Regions from separate parts of the Homo sapiens genome. Here regions 2, 3, 4, 5, 6 and 7 are each linked to region 1. The links are contacts of gene promoters, found by promoter capture Hi-C in blood cells and fetal thymus (Javierre and others, 2016). All regions are on one chromosome and are shown on one strand. Each heading gives the region's core, a stretch centred on a gene start or on the middle of the fragment in contact. The rest is flanking DNA. Distances are from core to core; before and after follow the strand shown.

Region 1 (3,536 bases), core at 727-3,226:
ATACAGCTTAGGGCAATTTAATTATAATAGAAAATAATCCATTTTCAGGACTGTCTCTACCACAGATTTCTTAACCCGAGGGAAACCCCCTGAAATTGTGTATTTTGCACATGTGTGGAGTCTGTGCACTTTGCTGGGAGTAAATTAAAACCTTCGATACGTGTATGATAACCACCTGCCTCCCTTCTCAAAAAATAAAAATAAAAAGAGGTTAAGAGCTTACCTCTAGGTTGAGAAGCTTAGATGTAAGTCATCCTGAGTGACTTCTGTTTTCCCCACCCGTGAATATCAAGTTATAACAAGTATCAAGAGCAGAAGGTGAGAAACCCAAGATGCAGGCTTGTGAACTGGAGTAAAAGAAGGTATCAGGCTTTACTTTTCAATCTCCAGCTGCCACTGCCCATTGCTCTGCCATATATTTGCTAGCCTATGACCTCAGGAATCAACTGACTCTCTCTGAACCACTGTTTCTCATCTCTCAATGAACAATGGTTATGCTTCTCTCAAAGAATTGTAAAGTCTCAAAGAAACTGAGTAAATGCATGGCTATCAGTAAGCGCTCAATTCATGGGAGTCCCTGCCCAGCACCAGTGGCTCAGGCCCCAAAATTAACTACTCAAAAGGCAGCTCCATCTATAACAGTGGTTCCATCCCCTACCTTGCCCCGGGGGAAAAGTATGACACAGTAGCTGAGTACCCAACTTTGGGAGAGACCCCACAGTTGAGTTCAGTTCCCAGCAGCTCTCCTCCATGCCTTTGTGAACTTGGGCGAACAGCTAAACTTCCCCATAATTTGGTGTCTCATCCATGAAATAGAAATGGTGAAGAGTGTATTCTTTCTCTCATGAGAGTCATGAGAAAATGCAAAAAGAACTCAGCACACTGTCTAGGACAAAATAAATGTTGGATAAATGTGAACTAACATAAAGTTCTTTGGCTTTTTCTTTCTTTCTTTCTTGGCCCATACTTTCTCTTCTAAGTACCATTCACCCACCTTTGGGAGTGCGTCCCTGTGACTGAATGTCCAACATGGATATCAGACAGAAAGGAAAAAACTCAACAAATAACCAAGATCCTCTACGTCCCTTCCCCAGGTCTCTGACCTCCCTCACCCCCACTCCCAGATAGCCAGCTAGCTTCCTCCCTCAATTCCCTTCATGTTTCCTCAAATATCACTTCAGTGACATCCCAAGCACCCACTTAACATTTCAAATCCACCCCACAAACACCCCACTGCATTTCCCCCTCCTTACTTTATTTTCAGCCTAACACCTGTCATCACATTACACACCTCATCATTTGCTTATTTAGTATACTGTCTGTCTTCTGTCGGGAGAAGCTACGCTCCTATAGGGCAGGAGTCCGTCTATTTTGTTCAGTTGCTATGTTCACAGCGCCCAGAGCCAGGGCAGAGAGTGGAGACTCCGTAAGAATCGGCTGAATAAATGAGTGAATGCCTGAGCGAATGAAAGGATGAAGAGAAGCCAGATTTTACTGGGGCCAAAGAGTTTGCACGGGGCGAGGGGAGCCAGATGAAGGATGAGGGCTGGCCTCAGATCCGACTCAAGTCCCTCCCACCTGCCCAATCCTAGAATTCTCTTTCCCTCTTTTAGGTGCTGGACAAGTTGCATATCCCGTTAAATCCGGGGCCCACTCCGGGAGCCCCCTATTAAAGGTAAGCAGCCCCCAACCCACCTTTGACACGGAAGAGTGACTAGCGGGGAAAATAACCCCAGCGGGCCGCCTAGGGGTGGGTGACCCGCGATCTCCACGCCCAGGTCCCGCCCTCGCGGCCCCTGCCCCCGCCCCGCCCCCCGCAGAGGGCGCGCCCTGGGAGCGGCGGGGGACGCGGCTGGCTTCCCGGCTTGCGGGGTGGCGGCGTCGGGGCTGCGGGCGCCTTGGCTGGACCCGCATTGCCCCCTAGTGCCGCGCGGAGTCAGGGCGCCGGGCTCCCCCGCCTGATGTCACCGCCGTGCAGTCAGCCCAGAAGCGGCTCATTGAAAGCAGACCCTCTTCGGCGCTCGCTGGGCGGAGGACGCGCCGCGGTCCGCAGACCCGAGCGAGCTGGGCACCGCCGGGCGCCCCCGGCCCTGCCGCCCCCTCCTCCCCGCCGCTCCCCCGCGAGCCCGGCCAGGCGCGCCTGACGTGGACCATTAAACTTGGAGCTGCCGCCTCGTCCCCTCTCCTCCTCCTCCTCCCTCTGACAGGCGAGCGAGCGACTCGGTGCAGGCAGGAGACGTGCTGCCGGGCTGGGCTGCCCGGGGGAGATGACTCCTCGCCAGGAGGGCGCCTCTGGGAAGAAGACCACGGGGGAAGCAAAGTTTCAGGGCAGCTGAGGAGCCTTCGCCGCAGCCCTTCCGAGCCCAATCATCCCCCTGGCTATGGAGGGCGGACTCTAAGATGAATCCCGACCTGGACACCGGCCACAACACATCAGCACCTGCCCACTGGGGAGAGTTGAAAAATGCCAACTTCACTGGCCCCAACCAGACCTCGAGCAACTCCACACTGCCCCAGCTGGACATCACCAGGGCCATCTCTGTGGGCCTGGTGCTGGGCGCCTTCATCCTCTTTGCCATCGTGGGCAACATCCTAGTCATCTTGTCTGTGGCCTGCAACCGGCACCTGCGGACGCCCACCAACTACTTCATTGTCAACCTGGCCATGGCCGACCTGCTGTTGAGCTTCACCGTCCTGCCCTTCTCAGCGGCCCTAGAGGTGCTCGGCTACTGGGTGCTGGGGCGGATCTTCTGTGACATCTGGGCAGCCGTGGATGTCCTGTGCTGCACAGCGTCCATTCTGAGCCTGTGCGCCATCTCCATCGATCGCTACATCGGGGTGCGCTACTCTCTGCAGTATCCCACGCTGGTCACCCGGAGGAAGGCCATCTTGGCGCTGCTCAGTGTCTGGGTCTTGTCCACCGTCATCTCCATCGGGCCTCTCCTTGGGTGGAAGGAGCCGGCACCCAACGATGACAAGGAGTGCGGGGTCACCGAAGAACCCTTCTATGCCCTCTTCTCCTCTCTGGGCTCCTTCTACATCCCTCTGGCGGTCATTCTAGTCATGTACTGCCGTGTCTATATAGTGGCCAAGAGAACCACCAAGAACCTAGAGGCAGGAGTCATGAAGGAGATGTCCAACTCCAAGGAGCTGACCCTGAGGATCCATTCCAAGAACTTTCACGAGGACACCCTTAGCAGTACCAAGGCCAAGGGCCACAACCCCAGGAGTTCCATAGCTGTCAAACTTTTTAAGTTCTCCAGGGAAAAGAAAGCAGCTAAGACGTTGGGCATTGTGGTCGGTATGTTCATCTTGTGCTGGCTACCCTTCTTCATCGCTCTACCGCTTGGTAAGTTGGGGACTAGCAGCAGGGGGACTGGGCATTTTTGGACCTTGGGTTTACTGATGAGCTTACTCTAAAGTTTTTTGTGGGTTTTGTTTCTTATGCAGTCTGTGCGTGTTCGGAGATTGAATAATATTGTTTGTTCTGCAAAGGGTTTGCAGATTGGGGAGCTGGCTAAAAACCAACTCAGGTG
Region 2 (3,536 bases), core at 444-2,943, 500 kb before region 1:
ACATGTTCAAAACTGCATGTGTTCAAGGTTATTCATTGCAGTATTGCTTGTAATAAAAAGACCAGAAATAGTTCACATATTCATTAACAGGGAGTGATTAAATAAGTATGGTGCATCGTTGTAACGGAATCATATGCAGTTGTAAATGAGAATGAAGGCACTCTCTGTACTAATATGGAAAGTTTTCAAATACATGTGAAGTGGAAAAAAAAGCAAGATGCAGAAGAATATATATAGCATGCTGTATTTTGTGCTAATGAAGGGGAAAATAAGCCTATGTATTAATTTTTTTTTGCATATGCATAAAGAAACTGAAAGTTTACATGCAAAACCTAATAGCAGTTTTGCATGTGGGATGTGGAAAGAGGGGCGGTATGAGGTATGGGAGAAGATTTTTAAATATATTTCTTAATTTTTTTTGAGATAGCCCATGTGGATGGACTATGTTACCTATTCCAAAAATTAAATTAAAAAGTTAAAGTGGTTTTATGCTGTACAAGTGATTCTGTAACCTTTTCCAATCAGGTTTATTTTATTTATTTATTTATTTTGAGACAGATTCTCGCTCTGTCGCCCAGGCTGCAGTGCAGTGGTGCCATCTCGGCTCACTGCAAGCTCCGCCCCCCAGGTTCACGCCATTCTCTTGCCTCAGCCTTCCGAGTAGCTGGGACTACAGGCGCCCGCCTCCACGCCCGCTAATTTTCTGTATTTTTAGTAGAGAAGGGGTTTCACCGTGTTAGCCAGGATGGTCTCGATCTCCTGACCTCGTGATCCGCCCGCCTCAGCCTCCCAAAGGTTTATCTTTCTGAATTTTTATCCGTGTGGTTGTGCCCTTGATTTTTCCATTAATTATGCTGCCTTGAACTGTAGAATTTTACAGCTGGAAAAGCTCTTGGAGAACACCTAGTTTCCAGCTTTTATATTACAGGAAAGAAAAATGAAGGTGCAGCAGTGGCAAGTAATTACTGAGAGTAGCTCAGCAAGTCAATGGCAGAATTGGGGGTTTGGCCTCAGACCTGACTCTGATTCAGAGGCTGGGACTGCCTTTCTTCACCCCATCCTCAACCAATGCCAAAGCCATCTGCCGAGTCTTAAGAAGAGATTGGTAACTTTACATGTTATCCTTTCCTAGGCACATTTGCATTCAAAAACAAAACAAAGATAACAACAGACAACAAAACCCAGTGGTCACTGTTGCAACTGATTGTTCAGACCTCAGAAGTCAGGGAGATGCTTTGGGATGAGAGATATGGGGTGGGATGGTAATAGTGGTTGGGCCGGTAGTCAAGGACACGGTAAACTTTCTAATATCTCCATTCTCCTACAAAATACATAAATCAGTTAAAGGAAAAGAAAAAGGCAAATAAAACAAAAAACAAAAAACAAAACAGCGAGGTTATCACTAGTTCATTCATATAAAGATTGTTTCTGTTTTCAGCTCAGGAAGAACTAATTTGAATTTTATATTAGTGATGACATTGCTATGAATATTATTAATTTAACTAGATCTTATTAGACTTTTTGTTGCCATAGTGACAATACAGGCACTAATAAGCCACAGAGTATGAGACCTCTGCAGGCAGAGTCATCTGGTGTATCTCTCCGCCTACATGCGGAACTCCTCTAAGCCGTTCTGACGGGTAAAGACCTTTTAGGATTTATGTTAATAAATAATGCCAGCCCTTCTGGAGTTCTTATAGTCAAGCACCGTGCCAGAAGTGGCAAGAATACAAAGACTCAGAAGAAATGTACTTCTGAGATGGCCAAATTCCTAGGCAGATAAAAAGGGGTCCCCGGAGAATCTCCGACTGGCCTGCTCACTGGGAGAACGGGGTGGAACCAGGGGGAGTTCACACTCTTTGCAGGAGGGAGGAGTCTGGCCTCTTCAGTTTCTGTGTGGTGGCCTGGTGTTCAGGCTGTGAGATGGGAGCCCACTGGCAGAATTCCTTCTTGCTTTGCTGAGAGTTTCTTTTTCCTTTTTTCCTTTTTGCCCAACAAATTCCTCTCTAAGCACCCTTCAGTATGTCCGCGCGCCTCATTCTTCCTGGTTGTGTGACAAGAACCCGGTTTTAGTTGAACTAAGGAGCAAAATTCTGCAACACTTCCACCACAAATTAAATAGCATACATGGGTGTTTTCTAAAATTTTATACAAAAATATTTCACTTATGTATTATTATTATTATTATTATTATTTTTGAGACAGAAGTCTCACTCTTGTCCCCCAGGCTGGAGTGCAGTGACGTGATCTCGGCTCCCTGCAACCTCCGCGATACTCCTGCCTCAGCCTCCCGAGTAGCTGGGATTACAGGCGCACACCACCACCCCCCGATAATTTTTGTATTTTTAGTAGAGAGGGGGTTTCACCATGTTGGCCAGGCTGTTCTCAAACTCCTGACCTCAGGTGATCCGCCACCGTGCCCGGCTATACAAAAATATTTTTAACAGTAAAGGAACAGAAACAATGTGTAGAGGCCTCCCTATGCTTGAAATTTTGGTCACATTTGGAATTTTAACTCATAATTTCATTCAAAATGTTGGATTCTACTCCATAATATAAATGTGTTTGCTTTAATGTCTATTAAATGTCTACATGTATAGTCTGTTAACTATTTTTTCTTCCTAGTCTTCTAGTAAAATTGATGCTCCAAGAAGATACACAACGTTGACCATGTGGATTCAGATATCTCCCGCTTGGATCTCAGCCTGGATCTTGTTGTTTGAGAAGCATAGATTAGCTACAGGTTGGTAAACTTTTTTGTAAGGGCCAGATAGTAAATATTTAAACAGTATAATGAGCCACACTGTTCCCGGACAGAACGAGGTCCTGCTGTCTGTTCTCGCGGTCCAATAAGGAGATGCAGACAGACTGGGAAAGAAGGGAGTTTATTTCTGCAACTGGTTACAGGGAGAAGGTTGGAGTAACTCACCAGACCAACTAAAATTAGAGGTTTTTCTCTAGTGCTTATGTTGCTGGAAGGAGGTCCCAATCCAGACCCCAAGAGAGGGTTCTTGGATTTCATAGAAGAAAGAATTTGAGGCGAATCCATAGGGTAAAGTGAAAGTAAGTTTATTAAGAAAGTAAAGGAATAAAGAATGGCTACTCCATAAGTAGAACAGCCCCAAGGGTGGCTTGTTGCCCATTTTTATAGTTATTTCTTGATGACATGCTAAACAAGGGATGGATTACTCATGCCTCCCCATTTTAGACCATGTAGGGTAAAGTCCTGACATTGCCATGATGTTTGTAAACTGTCATGATGCTGGTGGGAGTGTAGCAGTGAGGACGACCAGAGGTCACTCACATTGCCATCTTGGTTTTGGTGGGTTTGGGCCGGCTTCTTTACTGCAGACTGTTTTATCGGCAGGGTCTTGATGACCTATATCTTCTGCAGACCTCTTATCTTATCCTGTGACTAAGAATGCCTTCACCTCCTGGAAAAGCAGCACAGTAGGCCTTACACTTACTTTATCTAGCCCCTATTCAAGATGGAGTTGCTCTGGCTTAAATGCCTCTGATATGCCTACATGTGGGGC
Region 3 (3,536 bases), core at 753-3,252, 440 kb before region 1:
TCTTTTGTATTTGGTGAGTTTCTTTTCTCTTGCTGCTCTCAAAATTCTTTCTTTGTCTTTGATTTTTGAAGTTTTTATTGCAACAGGTTTGATGAAGTACTCTTTGGGTTGAACCTGTTTGAAGACATTTGAGCTTCATATACCTGGACGTCCATATCTCTCCCCACATTTGGAAAGTTTTCAGCCATTATTTCTTTAAATAAGTTTTTTGCCCTTTTCTCCTCTCCTCCTCCTTCCATAAGACTTATGGAACACATGGTTCTCAACTTACAGTGGTCCAACTTAAAACTTTTCAACTTTATGATGCCATGAAAGCGATACACATTCAGTAGAAACCATGCTTCAAGTACCCATATAATCATTCTGTTTTTCACTTTCAGTACAATATTTAATAAATGACATGAGATATTCAGCACTTTATTATAAAATAGGCTTTTTGTTAGATAATTTTGCCCAGGTTTAGGCTACTGTAAGTGTTCTGAGCATGTTTAAGATAGACTGACTGAGCTATGATGTTAGGTAGGTCAGGTGTATTAAATGCATTTTTGACTTATGATATTTTCAACTTATGATGGGTTTATTGAGACATAACCCCATTCTAAGTCAAGGAGCATCTCTAGCAATTCTCTTAATGGCATCCCACAAATTCTGTAGGCTCTCTTTTCTCTTTCTCATTCTTTTTTCTTTTGTGACAGGATAATTTCAAATGACCTGTCTTTGAGTTCATAGATTCTTTATTTTCTGCTTGATTGAGTCTACTGTTGAAGGCCTCTATTGCATTTTTCACTTCATTCATTGTATTGTTCAGTTCCAGAATTGTTTTTTTAATCATTTCTTTTTGTTGAGTTCATTGTTTTGTTCATGTGTTGTTTTTCTGATAATGTTGAGTTATCTATCTCAACAAAGAGAAGGGTTATTCTCTTCTAGCTCACTGAGCTTCCTTTAAACAATTATATCAAATTCTTTTTCAGGGAATTCATAGATCTCCATTCCTTTGGGAGTGGTTACTGAAAAATTGTTCCTTTGTTGGTGTCATGGTCCTTTGTTAGTGTCACAATTATTTTCTGTGTTCCCTGAAGTGTTACCTTGCTGTCTTTGCATTTGAAGAAGCAATTACCTCCTCTAGTCTTTACTGACCAGCTTTGAGAGAGAAACACCTTCACCAGTCAGTCTGACTAGGGATTCTGAGACTCTCTCCTAACTTTTATATGAATATTCCCCCTCCACACCTCTTGTTCTGTCTTGGGGGGTGAATTATTAAGATTCTCTGCCTTCTCTTGGTCCTGCAGAGCCAAGCCAGGTGCTGAGATCCTCTCATTTGTTTTCCCAAGATGGTGCCCTGAAATACTCAACTTTGTGTACTTTTTTCCTATCTTGCCAAGTCAGGCTGTCTGTCTGCATGTACTTGTAAACCTCCTGCTGAGATGCACACTTTCAGTCCATGAGGCCACAAGTGGGAAGCTGGCATGGGGGTAGGGGAGATATGTGAGGCATGCATAACATTGCAGAGGCCTGTGGGCCAGCTGGGGAGTCTGCATGTGTGTTGTCCCAAGTAGTTTTGGACAAGCTTCCTGATGAAGTTCATGAAGCAGTTAATAAAAACTGCATCCCTTTTCTGAATACTGAGTATTGGTTGCTATGAGTCTCTTCTCTTCTCTACTCGCAATCTCTCCTAACTGCTGAGCTCTACCAACCACCATGGTACTTTGAGTGGCAAAAGAAAGGTGCAGCCCTCTTGGGCAGCATTCCACATGACTGGGGAAGCCAGGTACTCACTTCCTATGTTCTCAGTTTCTCTCATGGGAGAAATCACAGGCTGAGAGATTCTCTCTTTGTACTGAGCTGTACTGTCCTAGGAGAGGAGTGACATGGGTATAGTGAAATTTTTTTTCTTACCCTCTTTAGTGTGCTTTTCTCAGATTTTTTTTCCCCAAAAGTGTGTTGGAACTTCTTTGCTGGATTCTCAGACTCCCACAAAGGTAGTATGATCCATTAGTCGTTGTCAAAAGTGATGCTCTGTGGGGAGATAATCGTAGAAAACTCCTATTTCACCATTTTGCTGATGTTACTTATACTGAGCTTCTTGAGAGTTAAAAATATGGTAACAAGAATAGAAGTTTCAATAAAAGATCTGTGTGATAAAGTAGAGGAAATATTGAAAGTAGGTAGAAAAGAGGAGAGAAAAGCTAGAAGACAAAGAGAAAACAGAGGAGATGTATGTAGGAGGTCTTTCATTTACTTAATAAAAATTCTAAAAAAGGGAATAAAAAACCAAAATGAAAAAATAATACCTAAGAAATAATAAACATATTCAACAACAGATGGACGTGAGTTTCTAGCTGGAAAGCATCAACCAAACTGTTCAAAACAATGACATTTAAAGGGCCCTCACAAAGCACAATATTGTTAAATTCCAGAATGCCAGAAATAGAGGTTTTAAAGCTTTCAGAGAGAAGAAATAGGTCATATACAGAAAAGAGAAATCAGAATGGCATGAGACTTTTAAACAGCTACCTTGGAAGTTAGAAGTCAATGAAGTGCCCTTCTATTACTAAGGGAAAATGACTTTCATTCTAGAATTGCTTTTCCAGATAAACTGTGAATCAAGTGTTAGGATTAAAAGATGCTTTCCAACATGTAAGGTTTTAAAAATGTTACATCTCATGGTAACTCTTCTCAGTTTGTGTTCAACCATATTGAGAGAATAAAACAACAAATAGAAAATCATGGGATACTGGAAGTGGGGGATCCAATACAGGAGAGAGCTGAAGGGAATTCCCAGGCTGATGGTGAAAGATGGCCCACAATGACAGCTGTTTGGCAGGTCTAGAAACCCATTACAGGTTGAAGGGAAAAGGTGGAAGTCTCCACGGTGGATGTTCCTAAGAAGAGTGGAACTGAGAGACTACTAATGGATTCAGGTATATTGAGAGAAATTCTTAGGGCTCCATGGGAGAGTTGGGGGGATAAATTAGTGACAGGCACACAGAAAACTAAGCAAAAAATAATGTTAATCCCAATGACAGCAAAAACAAAGACAATTCCAGAAAAAAACCACAAAGTTGTACAAGAAAGAAAATAAAGTCATAGTATAGTCACTTCAGTGAGTAATACATAGTTACAGTATTGGGAATGGTGATGTTGAAAATTTAGTTACAATGTTAGTAATGCTAGTATTGGACATTTAAGTATTTTTAAAAATACTTAACAAAAGCATGATATAAATGTGTTAGGAGAACAGAGAGAGAGGAAGGGTATGTAGGAAGGGGATCTGTGTGGGAATGTTAAGACCAGAGTAGAAAGTCAATCAATGAGGTATGAAATGCAAAAATCAGAACGTACTGGTTTACAAACATTATTTTTATATATGGAAGGAAATAACCAAGAGAAATATCCCAAAGCTGAAAGTGATTGGCCCTAGAGAGAAGATAAGGGTTACAAAGAGAAATAATGAGAAATCTTGTTTTTCCAGTATAAACCTTGTAGAACTATCTGATTTTTAAAAAGATGTTTTATACAAATTACTCTGATAAATT
Region 4 (3,536 bases), core at 478-2,977, 420 kb before region 1:
GATATTATCTGAGTGATCTCTCAGAGATTTGTGAGGCTTAAAGGAGTTAGTAACAAGGCAATCACTTGAAATATAAAACATTACACCATTGTAAGCCATTATGATTCCACTGAAAAATTAGCACATTAGTCTAGGGTAGCATTTCCCAAAGTGTGTTTTTGGAACATCAGTTCTATGGGATGTCAACCGGTATTACGCTAAAGCTATCAAACAAACAAACAAACAAAAAAGTGTTTTCTGGCCAAATAAATTTAGAAAACTCAAGGCTAAGCAAGCTTACATAGTTATTTTACCACATAAATTATTAGTCTTAATAATTTAATGTGCACTGTGAATCATTAAAATGAGGAAATTATATGCAGTAATTCAGACACTTCTTTGGACACAAGACTCTTATTTTCTCAACATATTAGTCCTTCAGAACACAGTCTTTTGGAAATTATTAAACCATCTACTCTTCAAGTTCTCTTCTGACTTGAATGCCCTCTGATTCATTCATCTGTTTAACAAATATTTATAGAGTCCCTATTATATGCCAGGCACTGTTCAGTGTAAAAAAAATACATCAGTGTACAACACAGAGAAACAAATCCTTGCTTTCATGGAGCTTACATTCTAGCAGGATTTGATGTCACTCACTCAAAGTGTACTCATACTTTGAGAAGTGACTGCTATCCCTTAACTCAAAGATACAAAGTTGTAAAGTAGGATCATTAAAAACAAAGAAAGGCCAGTGGGGAAGGATAGTTTGTGGGGAAAGGAGGGAAGACTGTGTGTCACTCTGCCTCCCTATCCCTCAGCCTCTGAGTTGAGGTTAAACTATGAACTCAGATCTGAAGAAGCAGATGGCTTCTACATCAGGGGCGCACAATCCCATTTGTTTATTTGTTTATTTACTCATTAATGTCACTATTCAGCACATACTTATAGGCATGACATATGTCATACACAACAATGCATAAGACCAAATTTGTACCCCCAGAGCTGACTCCCAGGTGGGCAGGCAGATCAGGACATGAGAGATTGTGCCTGTGTGTTTTATGTGCTATGGGGGAGAGGACAGAGTAATGTGGGGGCACATTGCAGGGGCACTGAACCCTAGACATCAGAGAAGACATCTTAAAGTGACATTTAATTTGAATTATCCAGAGAGCAATAGGAGTTTGTTTAGCAAACTGGCTTAGGGTGAATTGGGGAAACAGTGAGTAGGAAAAGCGCTCTAGTCAGCGGACACAATATGTAACTAACAAAACTCCCATGACAAGTTTACACAGTGGAACTGGCATGGAAGACATATGTATATATTAGAGTTCTGTGTATGATTTTCTTTGAAAAAGGGTTCTGTTATTGAAATAAAACTTGAAAACCATTAGTGGTTTCCCAAAGGAAATTTTTGAGGCTACTCTATGTTTATAATTCTTAAATTCTACTGCTTATGTAAGTCTTTCTGTCAAAAGTATTTGCATTTTCATGGGGAGTTTAGGAAGACTGAGATTTCTTTCAAATCTGAGGTACACATTGCTGCTGGCAGATAGTATTCATTGAAATGATTTTTGTTATAAATGACAGAAACCTCAATTCAAGATGACTTTAGCAAAATAGGAAATTAATTATCTTACATGACAAAACAATTCAAATGGAGAGAGACTTCAAATCCAGTCTCTCTCCATTTCAGTTGTCTGGCCTTCATTCTCAGTCTTAGCATTGCAGCAAGAGGGCTGCCAATGTCTCCATGTCTGCATCTTTCATGTCCAAGTCTAGTGGAAAAGAGGGTTGTCTTCCTGAAGCTGCGACATAAATCCCTGTATTCACTCTGATTGTACCATCTTATCTCATGTGCTCATCCCCAAACCAATCACTGTAGCCAAGAGGGTGAAACTACAAAGATTGGATAGGCCTGGATCACATAATCCAATCCTGGAGCAGGAAGTGTAGTCCCATCCAAACCACATGACTGAGAATGATTTCCTAAAAAGTCCTGAGGCTATAAGCAGAAGAATAGGGAGGGAGGCAGAAGGGGAAGGAGAGAGAGATGGAGATAGGGAGAGAGAGAGAAAGAGAGTCAAGGATGAAGGGAAAAAAGAGAAAGAAGCATCACGGAAAACAGTGATGGATTAAAAAAGGGAGAAAGCAAAAAAGAAAAGAAAAAGAATGAAACTGGAAGTAATACAGTCTAGTGAGTTCTTCCTTAAAGCATCACCTTGAGGGTAATGTTTACTTTCTCCAGTGATACTGCTTTGGCTCAAAAGGATTTTCAAACTCCTCTTGAAATTTTTTTCAGAGCCTGAAGCACGTTCTTTGAATATGCTCATTGGTGGCGAATCCTCATTCTTTGGGGGTGGTTTTGATTTTTGAAAGAAGCCAAAAGTCACTGAGAGCTGAGTGTTGACCAACATGGTGGCTGCTGCATCTGCCTCATCTTTCTTGTGTCCAAAGTAAAGTGCAATGATGTGTTCATAAGTCTGAGATCCTTGTAGGTTCCTTTTAATTAATTCATTCATTTATTGTTTTATTTTAATTTCATTAACTTAATAACCAACACTTTCACATGTTTCACATTTTCAAAGGCACAAAAGAATATATAGTAAAAAGTCCTTTCCCTTCCCTTGCCGCCCAGCCACCTGGTTTACCTTCCATGTTTTGCGTGTATCCTTCCAGAAAGAGCCTACTCCTATCCCTTAATTGACTTGAAGAAGGCCCAGAGAGGTATCTCTAAGTAACTGAAGAACTGCTTGAATGCTGGCTGAAGAGCACTGCAGTGTGTGTAAGCTGTGATAGGTTTATGCCAAATGCAGGTGTCAATACTTTATCCTTAGGACCCTGAGAAGTCTCTGTAATATGAGGCAGTTTCCTGGCTCAGATACCTGAGCTGTGCGAGATCAGGTGGGTAACTTTTTCTCTTGAGCTTTGGTTTTCTCATCTGTAAAATGGCGATAATGTCAACAACCTCCTTCGCAGGGTATTATGCGGTTTAAGTGCAATGATGTACGAAAATGTCCTAAGGAGGTTTATTGTATGTGTCGACTTAGCTCAACCACAGTACCCAGTGGTTTAGTCAAATACTAGTCTAGATGTCTCTGTGAAGGTATTTTGTAGATGTGATTAACATCTGCAATCATTTAACTTTAAGTAAAGCAGATTACCCTCCGTATTGTAGGTGAACCCCATCCAATCAGTTGAAAGCTTAGAACAAAACCTGAAGTTTTCTAGAGAAGAAATTCAGCATTAAGACTGTAGCCTAGAAATCCTGCCCAAGTTTCCAACCTGCTGGCCTGTCCTATGGATTTCAGACTCAACACTGCAACATCAACTCTTACTTGAATTTCCAGCTTCCTGGCCTGCCCTACAGGTTTGGGACTTACCAGCTGCCACATTTGTGTCAGCCAGTTTCTGAAAATAAATCTCTCTCTCTATATATATATATTCTATTTTATTCTATTGATTGTTTTCTCTGGAGAACTCTGACTGATACAGAGGGAGAAAACTGCATTGCAATGAGGCGGGGTGTTGAAATAAACCTAGGTTTTAGTCCTAGG
Region 5 (3,536 bases), core at 277-2,776, 390 kb before region 1:
AAATAATAATCAATTTTTCAAGACCTTATGGGTTAAATGGGAGATTCTTCTTCTCATGGTGTTGGGTGGGGCACTTAGATACCAGTTGTTCAAACAAGGGCCTTGTTTCTCTCTTATGTGAGTCCCTCCACAGAGCTGTTTGGGCTTCCTCACAGGATGTCTGCTAGATTCCTGAAAGAAACTCTGTAAGTGGCCAAGGCAGAGGCAGAGGTTACAGGTCTTTTAAGGCCCATCCTCAGGAGTTGCACAGTGTCATTTCTGTAGTATTCTAGTGATCAAAACAAGTCATGGAGCCACCCCAGATTCAAGGGGAAGCAAAATAGACTCCATCCTTTGATGACGAGTTGAAAAAAATGTGCAGCCAGCTTTAGTCTACCAAAATCTACTGTGTGCCAGGCACAGTGCTAGGTGCCTGGGGATATGAATGGTGAACAGAATCATACATAATCTTTGCTCCCATGAGCTTATAGTTTAGTGGGGGGAAGAAGAAATCAATTATCCACACCACTAAAAGTGTAAGTAGAAGGACTACAAAGGGATATGCTCAATGCCAGAAGAGCATAAAACAGGGGAACAAAGTCATAATCAAGAATGTCGAGGAGAGTTACCTGATAAAGGAGCACTAGGGCTGACATCTGAAGAATCAGTAAAGTTATTTAAGTTGTATGTATGCCTAGCACATGGTAGATCCTTGACTAATATTTGCTAAATGAATAAATGATGGCATGAGAAAAACTCTGTGACAAGAAAGACAAGGGACTGGGGAACAAAGAAAATGGAGGGTTGTAGTGTGGGATAAGGCCAGTGAAGGGTAGATGGTATAGATCTTTGAAACCACATTGAGTATCTGAGTCTTCAGCCTCAGAGCAATGGGTTTGAAGCCAGAGCAGGTTGGTTTAATAAGTTTTGGGCTCTGAAAAAGTCACCTTGACTACAATGTGGAGAATCAAATGGTTCGGAGGGCTAGGTAGTAGCTGGGAGGAGCAGAGAACGAAAGGAGGAGGGAGATTGGCTAGGACACTCTGCAGTAGACCACACAGGTGGTGGCGATGAATATGGAGATGGAGAAAACTCTGAGGAGATCTATCAAGACTGGGAAAGAAATGGCCCTGTGCTGTGGCCAGTTCCACGCCTGTCAGCCCCTCCGGCCCTGGGAGCCTGTGGAAATCTATAAGTAGTCTACACCAACCTGCGGGCATCTGAGCTCTGAAAGGGAATCTGTAGCACTCTCAAGGAAAGGCAAAGAAAGTGAGGCCAACACAACTCGCTTTTTGCCCTCAGAGCTGCAGTTCAGACTAGGTGCCAGGCGCCTTCTCCCACCTCAGGCTCTGAAGAGGAATATTGATTTCTGCAGCTGAGAATATAATGTTGGTGCTTGCTCTCAGGCCTCTCATTTTGCACTGCTTGTACCCTGGGGGAGGAGAGAGACCATGACTCCTCTGGAGATCAATGGCTGTGAACGGGATCGAGGAGAGGAGACCACGGTTTCTTTATCAGCCTATGCCGTCCCAAGGTGGCCACACAAACAAGGGCCATGCATCTAGGATTCTCCATCAGTGGCACTGTGAGAGTTTTGCTTTTACCCTTTCTATTGGAGAAAATATCAAACTTATCTATAAGTAAACTAGTGAAAGTTACCATTTTACCATCAGCTCCAACAATTATCAGCTCACGGCCAGTCTTACGTCATCTGTTTCCCCAACCTCTCTCCCCCTGCATTACTATGAAGCAAATCCTAGACAGCATATAACTTCGTAGGTAAATATCTTAGTTTTATTTTTTAAAAGATAGGCGCTCTTGAAAAAAAAAAAGCACAGTCATGGCATTATCACACTTAAAAATATTAATAATTACAAATGGATTTGTAATTATGATGCATCATACATTATATGATTATTTGATATCATCAAAAAAATAATATAATAGATGTTTGTTCACTTTTCCCTACTTGTCTTATAAAAAGATGTTGTTATTTGTTTTTGTTTGTTCATTTGAGTCAGGGTCCACACAAGGCCCGTACGTTGTAATTGATTACTGCATCTCTTAGGTCCCTTGTAATCTACAGGTTCTGTCTCATTTCTCTCTTTAAATAATTTTCCTCACCAGTATTTTGGAAAAGAAACTGGGTGGGTTGTCCTGCAGAGTTTCCCACATCTTGATCTTGCTGATGACATCTTTGTGGTGATATTTAACAGATTCCTGGTCCCCTGTGTTTTCTGTCAATCAGTAGTTGGATGTTGAATTTTGATTAAATTCACTATCAATTTCTTTTGGCAAGGCTACTTCATCGGTGGTGCTCTCTTTATCTAGCAGAAGGCACACTGTATTTGATTGTCCCTCTCTGAAATGTGAGCAGTCACTGGTCATTGCTTAGGTGCATTAATTCATTAGGAATTGCAAAATGGTGATAGACTAATTCTATATTCTGCCTTTTTTTGTTAATTAGGTAGAATGCTTCTCTACAGAGAAACTTTCTCTCATGATTATGCTGAGGCATAATTCTCATAGAAAAACATGATTAATATTCAATTCTTTACCCTTTACCTTCTTTTTTTTTTTTCACCAGTTCTCTAAATAATGTGCTGGTTCTGCAGCAACTTCTAAGGGTGACTATGGATGTTTTTAAATATCATGGATTTAAACATACTAGATATCATTTGTAAGTTATTAATTCTCAAATTATCTCATTTTTGGCCAGTAGGAGTCTCTTCATATTGGCTCCTGAGTTCATTTGACAGAATCCTAGTAATTTTTTATAGTTTCCTTGCTTTTTGATATGACAGATTCTCCAGGCTCATTTTGCACATTACCTGCCCCAGACATGAAATGAGTCACTTTGCCAAGGATCCTGGACTTCTTTTAGCAAGAAGTGGTATTTATAGATAGCAAACTAGGCACAAGGAGTGCTCAGTGCTTCTGGATTGCTGTTGCTAGGCCTTTCCTGTACTGATATGCATCATACAAGTAGTTTTTATTGAAATTCAGAATTCCAGGATTTTAGCTACCATCATCTATCATATATATATATATATATATATATATATATACATGTTTCCTTTCTCCCATGTTGAAATTCCTGGTTTTCAATGACACCCACAAAATGATTCATTTGATTTATCCCAAACTACATTCACAACCATCTCAGGCTAACAATACTAACACTACCACCATTAGTATAATTATTATAAATAATTTGTTTTCTCCAGTTCTCTTTTTTTCTTATGCTATATCTTAGTAGGGATGTACAGTCACATAACTGTGCTTTGAAGCAGAGCTGAAGCACTTTAAAGCACTTTGAGAAGTTCTTCTCTATGTGGTTATGTCAATGACTGGTTACAAATTTCTGTTTCGTTTCATTTTACTTTGGATATTTAGGGAGTACTTTTTAAAACAAGATATGTTAAAAGAAGTCTCTGCCATCTCCACTCAATTTCCTCACTCCCACTATAAGTAACCACTTAACATTTTTACAGGTTTTCTATTGCATAGATATAGATATAGATATACAATGTTTCCTGTGGTTGTATGAGTTGTAC
Region 6 (3,536 bases), core at 456-2,955, 370 kb before region 1:
CAGCTGTCTGTTGGAAATATGGATCTGGCATGTGTACAACAATAGCAACAATTTCCCTAGAGAATATGTGCGGAAATTGAATTGCTAGGTAATAAGATATGCATATCTTTATCTTTTTATGATAATGCCAATTTGTTTTCCAGAGCAGCTGTTCCAATCATCACTCCCAGCAGCCAAGTATGAGTGTTCCTGTTGCTCTACTTCCTTGGCAACATTTGATTTGATCGGATTTTTTAACATTTGCTAATCTTGTGGGTACAAAATTGTGGTTTTAATTTTTCACAAGTCTTGTCTGTTTAGGCCAGAGGTCATAAGCCAGCTGTGCCTGGCTGGATGAGGTCTTCTGTCTGGATGTCATCCACTGAAGTAGATTTGAGGGGCATTTGAAGAGAGGTGCTTCTGGAAGTTATAGGAATAGATGGAGTTGTCAATTCAGAGAATGTAGCCAGAAGAAGGCAGGCTCAGGGCCACATGTGGTTGGATGAGGAAGAGGAGTTGGTGTAAATGGAAGAGATGTTACATAATTAGATGTTGCCTAATGTAAAAATAAGTAGTTACAATAATTATTAGTTGGCTCATATGTTTATTGTGTGCCTCCCCTGGCTAGACCATCAGGTCCATAAGAGAAGTGATCAAGTCTGTTTTGCTGCATTAATAAGTGCATTAATCAGGCTTGCTAACCTAATAAACTACCCAATCATCTCAGAGGCTTTCAGCAACAAGCATTTATTTTTTCATCCCTGTAACACTCATGCTCCCCTGCAGGTCGGCTGTGGTTCTGTTCTGGGCAGCATTCTGTTCCATGTGTCTTCTCATTCTAGGTCTGGTGGAGAGAACAGCCTTTGTCTGGGACATGCAGTTCTCAGGGAAGAGGGGGAGAAGCAAAACATCTACAGAAACTGGCAATGCCTCTTAAAGCTTCTGCCTACATGTGGCTCATATCGTGCCTGTTCTAATTGTATTGACCAAAGCTTGACACGTGGCCAAGCCCAAAGTAATCCCCAGAAAGCACAAGTTACACAGCAATGGGTGAATGTGGGTGGTGAATAATTGCAAGCAATAACTCACCTCTTCATTCAAAGTAATGCCAGTGCCTAGCACAATCACTTGCACTTAGATCATAAAAGCAGATTATGCAGTATTTTCAACCTTTTTTCATGGAAAATTTTGCAGACACCTGTCTCAGTTGTGGATCCTGCAAGATAATTCATCTGCCCATAGTTCCAGGATGCTTTCATTCTGCATGCATCTCCTGAACCCCACCCCTCTTTGCTTGCTAGTTTCATTTAGAGCTCTTAAATGGGACCTATTTGGTATGAGGTTATGCTCCTTGCTGAGCTCTTGGCAAATCAAAAAGCTGCAAAGATGACAGCAACTATAAAAACCAAGTGTCTGTGTGGTAAGGAACAAGCCATTCTCCACATCTTTTGCTGGGAGCAAGGTCAGGCCACATTCTTCCAGGGCATGGAGATGGCATTGCCAAACTGACTGTGGATATTAAGGGGTTTCAGATGAGGAGAAAAGGGAGTGAGGTCACCTCTGAAAATGCTGGTGTGGTGTAATTTGGAAACATTCATGCAAACCATGTTTGTTAGCTTTTTTATTTTTAATCCAAACTAATGAAAAACTGAAGGGAAACGAGATGTTCCATGAGATTTAGCCAAACACTAAATAGGTCTTGTGGACTCTGACTGCAAAATTAGTTATAGAGGGCTTTTGGCAAAAACCATTATTGAAATTAAAATACTGCTTGCCTGTCCCTAAAAAGTGTTGATGCCAATTGTGAAGCCTCTGGTGGGCTATTGCAGGAGCCCCTGTTGCTGTCCCATTCATAATTACCTAAGAGATGAAAATTTTAAAAAGTTTAACTGTAGCATATGAGCTATGCTTAGTTGGGGTTTCTGGCCAAGGCACCAAGGATCAAACAGCAAGGACAGAAAACTTTTAAGTTAGATTCTGAAATATTTGTGTGTCTATGTGGTATATGTATATGTGTGAGTACATATACACACACATACACCCATATATAGATATATGGAAATGGCATAGAGAGGAAACAATTTGTGAATTGGAAACCACAAGAAAAGCCATCATTGAATGGTTATAATACTTTCTTGCATGGAGCTGAGTAGCTCGCATGAATTTGTCTAGCTTTAATATCTGAAGATATTTTGGGTAATGAACTCTGATCCTCTGAATGTCTGGACTTAACCTCTGGTCCTTCAGCGTAGGCAGAAGGGGAATATTTGAGCTTAATATTCTCTTCCTTCTAACTGATTGGTAGTTTAGTAGAATGTCATGTTAATACAGTGAAAGCCTGTGGGTTAAATCCAGTTCATTTTATTTTGACATTTAGATTTCATACATCATTCTGGCTTGCTTGTCAACCATCTTGAAAATTGGGTGGAAGGATGAACTCAGACTTTTCCCTCATTGCAAACAAGCTTTCCAGTGTGAATGCACCATGCTGCAGCCACAATGAGCTCCTCTCCATCCCTCTGAGCAGGTTAAGCTGTTTGCATGCTCAGAGTCCTTGCAGGGCTGTTCCCTCTACCTCATATGTTCTTTTCTCCTTTCCTGGCTAACTTCACAGACCTCAATTTAATTGTCCCTTCTACAGAGAGGACTTTTGTAACCCTTTATAGTCCTCCCTATTCCGTCTAAGCTATGTTCCTCCTCCATTGTGTTCTCATAGCATCCTGTTCTTTTCACCATTTATACATCTCTATTTGTTTATTTGATTGTTTAACATTGTCTCTTCTACCACACTGTAAGGACAGGGGCAATATCTGGTTTGTCACAGCATCCTCAGCATCTATCAGAATATCTGGCATATGGATGGTCTGTAAATAGTTGCTGAATGAATAAAGGTTACACTAACAATGGGTTAGTAATATCTAGGATTGCTTCACATTAGAGATGAGAAGATCTTAGAGGCCTTAGAAGAAAGATCTTACTTAGAAGTGTATACCCAACCCTTCAAGACACCAGATCCATGTTAATTGATAGCACTTTAGTTATTTTTATTCTGTTCTATGATTATGCCAAAGCTTATTTAATCTTTTAATTGGCATTTGATTTGTTTTCAGTTTCTTGCCATAATAAACAATGCAGCTATGAACATTCTTGTATGTTCTTTATATGTTATATGTTTCTTCGTGCACATTTGCAACAATTTCCCTAGAGAATATGCCAAAAATAGAATTGCTAGGTAATGAGATATGCATTTCCTTATCTTTACAAGATAATGCCAATTTGCATTCCAGAGCAGCTGTTCCAATCATCATTCCCAGGAGCTGAATATGAGCGTTCCTGTTGCTCCACTTCCTTGGCAACATCTGATTTGATCAGATTTGTTAACATGTGCTAATCACATGGCTGCAAAATGGTGGCTTTAATTTTTCACAGGTCTAACCTGTTTAGGCCAGAGGTTGTAAGCCAGCTGTTCATGACTGGATGAGGTCTGCAGTCTGGATGCCATCCACAGACCTAAAGAATGTTTTTTGAGCCTAAAAATTGAATTAGTTGCCAACATT
Region 7 (3,536 bases), core at 678-3,177, 350 kb before region 1:
GTCAAAGCCCTGAGCATTTCCTTTCTAACCGAGCCCTAGGAAACCTCAGGGCCCAATGTATTAAGCACATGAAGAACTCAGGGCCCAATGTATTAAGCAAATGAAGAAAAAGCAGCCGTGTTTGGGCAGTAAGTCATGCTGATGGATGTAGCACTCCAGTCCTGCCTACTATATCTGTGTAGGTATTGAACATCCAAAGATCTGTTCCATACAACTTTTCAAGTGAAAAAAAAATAACAGCAAGCCTCATAACAAGAAAATAATTGCAGGAGCAAAATGACAATGTTTGGCAGTGCTGCAAAAGTGCTTGGAAGAATTTGAGGAAATATCTGTACCTGAAATACAAGTTGTGCCTCATCTTCCTCATTTATTAAGTTGAAACATAATATTTAATGTTGCTTTTAATCTGGATTATTTAAGATTCTTAGATTCAAGATTCTATGACATTATCCAAAGGCACTTCTCTTAGGAAGTCTCTCTGTTCCCACTGGTTTCCAACAGTGGGAGGTGGGATGGGTGACATCTGCAGATAAAACCAGGCCGTGCTGTTGAACAGTTGGCAAATCCAAGTGATTCTCTTCTCCCTGGAATGGGTGCAGGGTTGCATATTAATTTACAATTACTCATAAAGTAGACAGCAAAGGCTTCTCTTTTGTCAACACTTAGACATACAAATTAGGTAATATTGAATGGGCAATGAATATTTCATTTCCACCTTGCCTCCTGGTGCCAATCACTGTAAATGAGGCTAGATTAATATCCGAAATGACTCACACTCCGTTAGGTATCCAAGTCTGGGCCCCTCAGACTCGCTCTATTTTGGCCTTAATTTGTCAGCTGGATTTTGTTAGTGACTATGCAAGACAGAAGCAGGAACACATAGTTTACCTCAACTTTATGCTGGACATGAACTTCAGTGTTTCAAAGTGATCTTTGGTTCTGATAATATGGCAGAGCAAACTTGTACAAAGGATGAATAAAAAATAGAAATAGAATTTTTAAAAATATTCCGGCATAAAAGAAAAAAAAAATCCCCAGGTACAAGAATTGAAGAGAGAAATCAAAGCCAGGGCAGTAATGGAGAGTTGGTATTTCAGCAAAATTTTCTGACCCAGATATAAGCCCTAAGAGCTGAAGGTTGGGGATTTAACACCCACTGGGGTACAGGAAATGTGGCCTCAAGCCCTTGCTAGGTAGGGAAAATAGAACTAAGCTTCAGCATAAAGCCATGAGCCTTGAAAAGTTGCATTGTCCGTGGGATGGTGACTACAAAAACTCCACATCTGAGTCCAGGAAAGAAGCAAGTAAGCTTGCCACCCATCTAGAACCCCAGTTAAAAAAAAAAAAAAAAAAAGAAAAAGAAGCTGTGTCCAAAAAATCAAAACCCCAGGTCTGGGCCACATATGGGCATGGTATCTAAATGTATACCAGTGATAAGTTAGCATAGATTGCCTAAGTCTATGAAACCCCTAGGATATAATAGGGGAAATTGTGAAACTGAATTGTTGGGACATTTTTACAAATCAGGGCATGAAGTACTCACACCCAGAAATTTACCATCATAAGGAAGATACTAAATGCTTCAAAAGGATAATTAGCACCTTAAAGATTCGAAATAATAGAAATATCTTTATGAGACTATAAAATAAGAGCATTTAAAATTATTAAAGATAGAAGAAGTAGTATGATACAAGAAGCAGAAAATTCAAAAGAAATATATAAATAGGACTCATGCATAAGTTGGTTTGCCCAGCACGGAGGGATTTCTCAGGAGACAAGATTCTCAATACTAAGGGAGACTCTCATTAGGCAAAGCATGTGGTGGTCATGTTACTTCCACTGGGTAACCAAAGAGGTTTTAATGAAGAGACCGTTTACAAACGTGTGGACAGAATTTGGGGAAACCAGCAAGGAACAATACAGCGCCCTGGACCTAACCACAGGGAGCCACTACTACCAACTCTGGGAGGGAAACGGCCGACAGAAGTCAGGACTAACTTGCAGCTCCCACTCAGGCAGGCAGAGCAGCGTGTGGAGACCCACATCGTAAACTTTTGCTCCATTACTATCCTCAAGTCTGAAGGGGCAAGGAGAGGGTGCCATTACTGAAACTCCGAGAAATAAGCCCCACGGAGAAGCCCTTAATGGAAGGAAATAGGAAAGAAGCAAGGAGAATAAGCACACCATTTTCACTCTCCACCTACCTTCCCTCTGAACTCCTGTTGAGACCTCCCATTGGCCAGACTCAGCTAAAAGCCAGAGAGCAAAGAAGTTCTTTGACCTAGTCTACACAGGCCAGCCTCCTGAAACACAGATCAAGAAGGGTGCAGAATGGATCTTGAAGGGTAAACGAAAAACAGTCGGGACAAAAGCACAATGAAATTGACCATCTGAATACCTGTATATAAAACCTTGCAAGTTAAAGCAGGTTGTGCAAAACCAGAGTTAGGAGGAAAATAGCAGGCTAAAAGTTAGAAGAGCTGAGCCCTGGTGACACCTTTGGTATTTACAATCAGTGTGACTTTGAGAAAGTGTCTTTGTTTACTCAAGCTTCTATATTATTAATTAAGAATGAGGCTGGGCATGGTGGCTCATGCCTGTAATCCTAGCACTTTGGGAGGTCGAAGTGGGTGGATCACTTGAGCGCAGGAGTTTGAGACCAGCCTGGGCAACATGCCAAGACCCTGTCTCTACCAAAAGAATACAAAAATTAACCAGGCCTGGTGGCACACACCTGTAGTCACAGCTACTCGGGAGGCTGAAATAGGAGAATCGCATGCACCTGGGGAGGTCAAGGTTGCAGTGAGCCATGATTGTGCCACTGTACTCCAGCCTGGGTGACAGAGTGAGATGCTGTCTTAAAAAAAAAAAAAATTAACAGTGAAATTTTTCTAGAATAGAAGTCTCACACTGGAAGCCCTTGGATCAAATCTTAGTGGAGTATATTGTTTACAGAATGTTTTAGACTAAATCTGAATAATTCAATAACATTGAAAAATTGAGGAAAATTCATAAAATAATGTGGATTTCTAGCTTTCTTTGTGTTTTCGTTTGGCAACAATTGTCTAAAGGCAAGGTCCTCACTCCCATTTCTACACCGACCATCCCTTCTGGCCCACTTCACTCATTTCTGTTACCTGCCTGCAGCCCTGTGGGAACTGGTATTTGCAACCTTGAATAGCACTTTCAACTTTCAGGTTTAACAGTCTGTGAAATTTAAGGCATCACTGTAGGTTTTGACTATGAACATGGGCTTTCTGAGTTTTTTAATCGAGGTGGATTGGGAAGTTGGCAGGTGGCTTTTTGCATATCTTCCTTTACATCTTAAACACAGCACATATGCAGTTTTATGAAGCATATGGTCTTCCATGTGCATAACTACACTTTGTTGATTTTTCCTTTTCCTAAGTTCTCCAAAAGCCCAGTAGAATAAACACAAGCTGCCACTTGGAAAACAATTCTGAAGAAAAGCCCATCTGGGGAGAAAAAGTGAGGCAATCCAAAAAGCCGCCAAGTGACCACATTTCTGGAGTAAG

What was found. Contacts are between HindIII fragments. The CHiCAGO score rates a contact against its expected background, and 5 or more counts as called.
Region 2: a fragment that was not itself captured here is called in contact with the fragment with the promoter of ADRA1B in region 1 in 1 of 17 cell types (M2 macrophages); the score reaches 5.1 in M2 macrophages.
Region 3: a contact is called between a fragment that was not itself captured here and the fragment with the promoter of ADRA1B in region 1, in 6 of 17 cell types (M0 macrophages, M1 macrophages, megakaryocytes and 3 more). The highest score is 7.3, in M0 macrophages.
Region 4: a fragment that was not itself captured here is called in contact with the fragment with the promoter of ADRA1B in region 1 in 8 of 17 cell types (megakaryocytes, M2 macrophages, M1 macrophages and 5 more); the score reaches 12.5 in megakaryocytes.
Region 5: a fragment that was not itself captured here is called in contact with the fragment with the promoter of ADRA1B in region 1 in 6 of 17 cell types (M2 macrophages, endothelial precursors, M0 macrophages and 3 more); the score reaches 17.3 in M2 macrophages.
Region 6: a contact is called between a fragment that was not itself captured here and the fragment with the promoter of ADRA1B in region 1, in 7 of 17 cell types (M1 macrophages, endothelial precursors, M2 macrophages and 4 more). The highest score is 11.2, in M1 macrophages.
Region 7: a contact is called between a fragment that was not itself captured here and the fragment with the promoter of ADRA1B in region 1, in 3 of 17 cell types (megakaryocytes, M0 macrophages and endothelial precursors). The highest score is 6.5, in megakaryocytes.

Annotation. Positions count from the first base shown.
Region 1 is chr5:159,914,506-159,918,041 of GRCh38, forward strand. ADRA1B (adrenoceptor alpha 1B) reads left to right here and starts at 1,977. Exons shown (of 2, transcript NM_000679.4): 1 at 1,977-3,349. The coding sequence starts at 2,401. RefSeq lists a silencer at 1,811-1,870 and enhancers at 1,934-2,550, 2,551-3,167. The HindIII fragment of the contact is 3,740 bases long and covers 237-3,536 here.
Region 2 is chr5:159,413,899-159,417,434 of GRCh38, forward strand. No RefSeq gene overlaps it. Among named protein-coding and RNA genes, the nearest start is that of LINC01845, 51 kb to the right of the region's middle. The HindIII fragment of the contact is 5,285 bases long and covers 1-3,536 here.
Region 3 is chr5:159,474,456-159,477,991 of GRCh38, forward strand. No RefSeq gene overlaps it. Among named protein-coding and RNA genes, the nearest start is that of LINC01845, 9.9 kb to the left of the region's middle. The HindIII fragment of the contact is 875 bases long and covers 1,566-2,440 here.
Region 4 is chr5:159,493,410-159,496,945 of GRCh38, forward strand. No RefSeq gene overlaps it. Among named protein-coding and RNA genes, the nearest start is that of LINC01845, 29 kb to the left of the region's middle. The HindIII fragment of the contact is 2,908 bases long and covers 274-3,181 here.
Region 5 is chr5:159,529,054-159,532,589 of GRCh38, forward strand. The region is part of intron 2 of LOC105377684 (a long non-coding RNA gene); the gene reads left to right. Among named protein-coding and RNA genes, the nearest start is that of LINC01845, 65 kb to the left of the region's middle. The HindIII fragment of the contact is 5,826 bases long and covers 1-3,536 here.
Region 6 is chr5:159,547,788-159,551,323 of GRCh38, forward strand. All of the region lies in intron 2 of LOC105377684 (a long non-coding RNA gene), which reads left to right. Among named protein-coding and RNA genes, the nearest start is that of LINC01845, 83 kb to the left of the region's middle. The HindIII fragment of the contact is 1,473 bases long and covers 970-2,442 here.
Region 7 is chr5:159,563,663-159,567,198 of GRCh38, forward strand. It overlaps LOC105377684 (a long non-coding RNA gene), which reads left to right. Exons shown (of 20, transcript XR_941139.3): 5 at 3,410-3,531. Among named protein-coding and RNA genes, the nearest start is that of LINC01845, 99 kb to the left of the region's middle. The HindIII fragment of the contact is 1,241 bases long and covers 1,308-2,548 here.